2 separate regions of the Homo sapiens genome follow, and region 2 is linked to region 1. The links are contacts of gene promoters, found by promoter capture Hi-C in blood cells and fetal thymus (Javierre and others, 2016). All regions are on one chromosome and are shown on one strand. The core of a region is centred on a gene start or on the middle of the fragment in contact, and the rest is flanking DNA. Distances in the headings are between cores, read along the strand shown. Region 1 holds the start of LTC4S (leukotriene C4 synthase). Region 2 overlaps MAML1 (mastermind like transcriptional coactivator 1).

Region 1 (2,700 bases), core at 164-2,663:
GACATTCAGCGAGGAGGGCAGGGCTGAAGCCTGGGGCGCAGAGAGGCCCTGTCCCAACCTGTGAGTGTATGGGGGAGGGTGAGTGATTCAGGCACAGGGACACCTGCTCCGCGAGAGAGACCACTTGAGTCCTTGTTTCTGAATCATTTCACTCTCAAAACACAGGCAAATGCAGCTTTCAGGTCCCTGGCCAGGAAGTGCCTCGGGAGTCTGAGGGCAGAGCTGGCTGCATCCTCCCAGGTGCAAGGAAGCACACTCCCTGTAGCTAACAGTCCCTGGTCACCCACCTACCAGCGCCCACCAGCAGGGCCCTCTGACCCTGCCTCAGGCCGGGATCACTAAAGCCTGCGTCCCTGTGCCTCCAAACCTCAGTTTCTCTGTTCCTGCATTCCGGTCCCAGGCCTAAATCTGACAGACACCTTCTCTCCTGCTCCCAGGAGGTTGCAGCTGGGACTCTCCTAGCCTAACCCCAGGACCCCAGGGCTGGGGTAGTTGCAGAGGGTGGGCTGGCCCTAAAGTTTCTCTGTGGGCAGGAGCCCTTCTCTTGGTCAGGTGAGGCCAGGCCAGACCACACACAGACCAGTGCTGGCTGTGCGCTCCCTCCCCAGACCTCCCGTCGGACCATCTCCCCCTGAGTCCTGCAGCCCTGGCACCTTTGGTTCTGGGCCCTCTGCAGATGGGTGTCACAGGGTGGCCATCCAGCTCAGTGCAGGAGCAGCTGGAGGTCAGGCTGGCCTGTCTGTTCAGCCCCTTCAGAGCCCCCTCCCCAGGCTGTGCCTTATCCTAGCCCACACACTGTGGAGTAGTGGTGTCTCTTAGGTGGCAAGGATATCTGGCCAAGGAATGTGTCCTTTAGGGCCAGTCTGAGAAAGGCATTAAGCAGGCTCTTTTTAGGGGGCTGGAGGAAGGAGTCCCACCTCTACCCTGCTCCACGTGGTCCCAGTATGGAGGTGCCTTTGAAGCAGAGCCAGGGAATGGGGGCCGCTTGCTGGGACGCCCAGAGAGGGGACAGCTGGAAAGAGCAGAGATCAGCTTCCCCAAGCCCATGGCTATCCTACCATTTGTCCTGGCACCCTTGCCACCCCCAAGTCCTACAGCTCTCACAGCCAGGTGCCCCCCAGTTCCCTGAAAGTCCCCACCCTCTTCCAGCTTGGGCCTGGGCTGGAGTCCCCACCTCTGCCCTCCACCTGGGCCTAGGGGGCAGAGGGCAAGCTGTAGGGATCTAAGGCCCACCCTCTTCCTAGATAGGAACCAGCCCACCTTGCAGCAGGACTCCCAGGAGGGTGACAGCAGCCAGTAGAGCTACCTCGTCCTTCATGGTACCGTCGGTGTGGTGGCACGGGCTGTGTGTGAAGGCGAGCTGGGGAACGCTTAGCCCCGTCTGCTGCTCAGAGGACGGCCCAGGAGAGGAAGAGCAGCCTCGGTGCTCTCCCCGCCCCATCTCAGTGGAGGGGGTGCACGGGGGTGTGACCATACCACACAGAGCCAGGGAGCCAGGCCAAGCCAGCAGGGAGGAAACCAAAGTCTGGGCAGGGGAGAGCAGCTAGCTGGAGACCGCCTCACCACTTCCTGCTTGTTCGTGCCCCTTCCTTGCCTAGTCCCGCGTGGCAGAGCCCAAGCTGTCCATCTGGGTCAGCTCCAGCTGTGGGTGTGCCCCCTGCTGCACCACCCCACTTTCTCCAGGGCCTTGCAGACCCCCACATCATGCTGGAGCCAGCCCCAGGCTCCCGGCTAACTCCTCCACCCACCTTATCTGTTCCCTGTCCCCATCCAGGCTGTTCCTGGCAACCCCTGCCAAACCCTCCTCTGCGGAAGCCCTTCCCAGTGCCTTTGGCTTCAGAATGGAGTCCCAGCGCCCCCCCAGCCACACTGGGCCCCACAAGCTCTTTCTCCTTCAGGAAACCTCATGCCTGCCAGCCTTAGTCGTTGTAGGGGTTCCATGCACAAGGGCCACCCTGCCAGGAGGAAACCTGTCCAAGGCCCCCTGGGTGGCGGGAGGGTCAGCCCTTGTGGGCCATCCCTCTCCCAGGCCTCTCTTGGGCCTCCCACAACAGTCACCTGCTGTGTCTTTCTGCCCCGCAGCCCTCTTGCCTCAAGGTAACAACCCTCCACCACCTTCCTAGACGGCTGCCCTCCCCACACTCAGGCCCTGTGGTCTGGACAGTGCTGACTCCTGCCCCTTCCAGGCCTGTGAGATGGACACTGAGCCAAGGCTGACTCAAGATGGTGAGATGTAGTTCTGGAAACTTCCTTAGGACTTTGGGACAGGAAACTCAGAGTGGGGAGGGGGACTACGGCGGGCCACCCTGAGGACAGAGCCCACGCAGGGCCAGGTGGAGAGGAAAGGTGGCACCCGAGGACTCCTGCCTGGAGTTCTGGGTGTCTCCCTCGCCCCGCCTGGAGCGCCCCCGGCCGCCCCCCTCGCCCTGCCTGGAGTGCCCCTGGCCGCCAGCCTTCCCAGTTGGGCCTAACGGTCACTTCCTCTTTTGGCTTGAGTGGGTTTGCGGTGGCTTTTGGTCAGAAGTGGCAAAGTCCAGACTGACCCAGAAGCACGGGCAGGAGCTGGGGGAGGCCACAGGCCGTGCTGCAGGGGTCGGGCCGCATGGTTCTGCCCTCGCACCTGGTCCTTCCTTGCTGCCCCAAGCTCAGCTCCAGCCTGAGGCTCGGAGCCTGTTGGGCTCTCTCAGAATCCCTTCTTCC
Region 2 (2,937 bases), core at 172-2,671, 53 kb after region 1:
CCAGGCTGGTCTCGAACTCCTGATTTCAAATGATCCACCCACCTCAGCCTCTCAAAATGCTGGGATTACTGGTGTCAGACACTGAATGTGGCAAAAATGTTGGTTTTTTTTTTATTATTTATTTTGAGATGGAATCTCACTCTGTCGCCTGGGCTGGAGTGCAGTGTCACGATCTCGGCTCACTGCAACCTCCGGTGCCCAGGTTCTAGGGATTCCCCTGCCTCAGCCTCCTGAGTAGCTGGGATTACAGGCACGTACCACCACGTCCGGCTAATTTTTGTATTTTTAGTAGAGATGAGGTTTCACCATATTGGCCAGACTGGTCTCAAACTCCTGACCTCAGATGATCCACCCGCCTTGGCCTCCCAAAGTGCTGGGATTACAGGCATGAGCCACCGTGCCTGGCCAAAAATGTTCTTAATAAAGCAAATTAAGTTTGTTGGCCAGGTGCGGTGGCTCACGCCTGTAATCCCGGCACTTTGGGAGACCGAGGCGGGTGGATCACCTGAGGTCAGGAGTTCGAGACCAATCTGGCAAACATGGTGAAACCCCGTCTCTACTAAAAATACAAAAAATTAGCCTCAGCTACTTGGGAGGCTGAGGTGGGAAAATTGCTTGAACCCAGGAGGTGGAGGTTGCAGTGAGCCGAGATCACCCCACTGCACTCCAGCCTGGCGACAGACGGAGACTCTGTCTCAAAAAATAAATCAATAAAACAAATTTAAAAAATAAAATACATTTGTTTAGCCAATATGTGCAGATGCTCAGAGGGAAAAAGAATTGTTTAGCCCAGTGTTCCTCAAATGTGTTCCACTGTAACTTTCAACAGCCCATGAAATTAGTGTTCCATGGAACACCTCTGGGGAAAGCATCTGGCTAAAGCTTAAGATCCACCTTAAAAGTAAATTCTTTTTTTTTTTTTTTTTTTTTGAGACAGTCTCGCTCTGCCACCCAGGCTGTAGTACGATGTCACAATCTCAGCTCACGACAACCTCGACCTCCTGGGTTCAAGTGATTATCCTGCCTCAGCCTCCTGAGTAACTGGGATTACAGGTGTATGCTACCGTGCCCGGCTAATTTTTGTATTTTTTACCAGAGACGGGGTTTCACCATTTTGGCCAGGCTGCCCTTGAACTCCTGATCTCAAGTGATCCGCCCACCTCAGCCTCTCAAAGTGCTGGGATTACAGGCGTGAGCCACCACGCCTGGCCAAGAGTCAATTCTTTAAAGCCTTCCAAACTTCACCAAAAAGGCATCCCCCTTCCTCAATATTCTCACAGGCTTTAGCCCTGAACTCGGCTTTGCAATGACCTGTGTATCATCTGCTCCCACTTAGGCTCCGCGATACAGGTTCACCATCTACCACGATTCCTGGCTCCAGCAGGACTTCAATGTTGGTTGAAAGAACCACCAACTGAACGCTGGGAATTGTGGAAAAGGAGTGGAAAATTCCCAGGTTTTTACTCTGGATGACTGGGTTAGGGAAAATACTTAGAAGGAACATATGATTTGGTAGGAAAAAGGGAAAGTCCATTTTGGATATGTGGGAAATATATCCTGGAAAGATGAAAATGTCCAGCAGACAGCTGGAAATGTGGATTTGAAATCTGGAAGACAGATCTGGACTGGGGATTTGAAGAGTATTATTACAGGTGACAAATGAAGCTATGAAAGAATCAATAACATCACCCAGGGGAAAAAAAGAGTGAAAATGGCCAGGGATATAGTTGCCTAGAGAACACTAATATTTTTAAAGTGCAAAGAAAGTTTCTCAAGCCATAAAACTAGGAATTTCCCTTGAATACTCCCCTCTCCTGCCCGCAAAACAAAGCCATCTAGTCCAGCAACCCAGTCCTGTCACCTCTGCCCTCAGGAACTGTCCAAAACCCATCTCCTCTTCTCCATCTCCACTGCTACCACCAGCCCCAGCCCTGGCATCTAGAGAGCTACAAAAGCTTTATATGCATCCACTCCTATCCACACCAACCCCAGGCATCCTCCACCTAGCACCAGAACCATCTTCCAAAACTTAAAGATCGGCCGGGCACAGTGGCTCACACCTGTAATCCCAGCACTTTAGGAGGCCGAGATGGGCGGATCACGAGGTCAGGAGATAGAGACCATCCTGGCTAACACGGTGAAACCCGTCTCTACTAAAAAAAAAAATACAAAAAAATTAGCCGGGTGTGGTGGCGGGCACCTGTAGTCCCAGCTACTTGGGAGGCTGAGGCAGGAAAATGGCGTGAACCCGGGAGGCGGAGCTTGTAGTGAGCTGAGATTGCGCCCCTGCACTCCAGACTGGTCAGCAGAGCAAAAAAACCTAAGTTGGATCATATCATGTTTCTGCTCCCTATCCTGCTACTGCTTCCTACTGCACTTGATCTGGTCCTAGGTGCCACGCTGCTCCAGACACACTGGCCTGCTTTCTGTTCTTCATGCCAGCTCAGAAGGGTCCTAACTCAGACACTTGGTACTGGTGGTTCTCTCTAACTGGAATGTTCTAAGACTTTCAGCTGACTGACAGCCTCTCAATCATCAAGCTCAAATCAAGGCATCTTAAGCTACGACTGTCATTTAGTATCACATGACTCTGCTTTTAATTTTTGCTTAGCACTTATTATAACAAAGTTAACAAAAATATTGACCTCCTCTTTCTCCATGACAGCAGAATTTTAATTTGTCCTATTCGCTACTGTACACAGCAGTTCCCTTGGTGTCCATGGGGAATTGGTTCTAAGACCCCTGCCCAGCCTCGCCGGGACACCAAAATCCAAGGATGCTCAAGTCCCTTACATAAAATGGCCTAGTATTTGCAATAATATATACACATCTTCCAGGATACTTTAAATCACCTCTAGATTACTTACAATACTTCGTATGATAGAAATGCTATGTAAATGTTGTCATATTTTTATTTTTTATTTATTTTTGATGCAG

What was found. Contacts are between HindIII fragments. The CHiCAGO score rates a contact against its expected background, and 5 or more counts as called.
Region 2: a contact is called between a fragment that was not itself captured here and the fragment with the promoter of LTC4S in region 1, in 2 of 17 cell types (monocytes and M0 macrophages). The highest score is 6.9, in monocytes.

What each region holds. Positions count from the first base shown.
Region 1 is chr5:179,792,699-179,795,398 of GRCh38, reverse strand. LTC4S (leukotriene C4 synthase) reads right to left here and starts at 1,413. Exons shown (of 5, transcript NM_145867.2): 1 at 1,261-1,413. The coding sequence starts at 1,318. RefSeq lists enhancers at 1-290, 1,774-1,923, 1,944-2,023, 1,598-2,225 and a silencer at 1,354-1,423. The HindIII fragment of the contact is 38,202 bases long and covers 1-2,700 here.
Region 2 is chr5:179,739,677-179,742,613 of GRCh38, reverse strand. All of the region lies in intron 1 of MAML1 (mastermind like transcriptional coactivator 1), which reads right to left. Among named protein-coding and RNA genes, the nearest start is that of MAML1, 8.3 kb to the right of the region's middle. The HindIII fragment of the contact is 1,073 bases long and covers 885-1,957 here.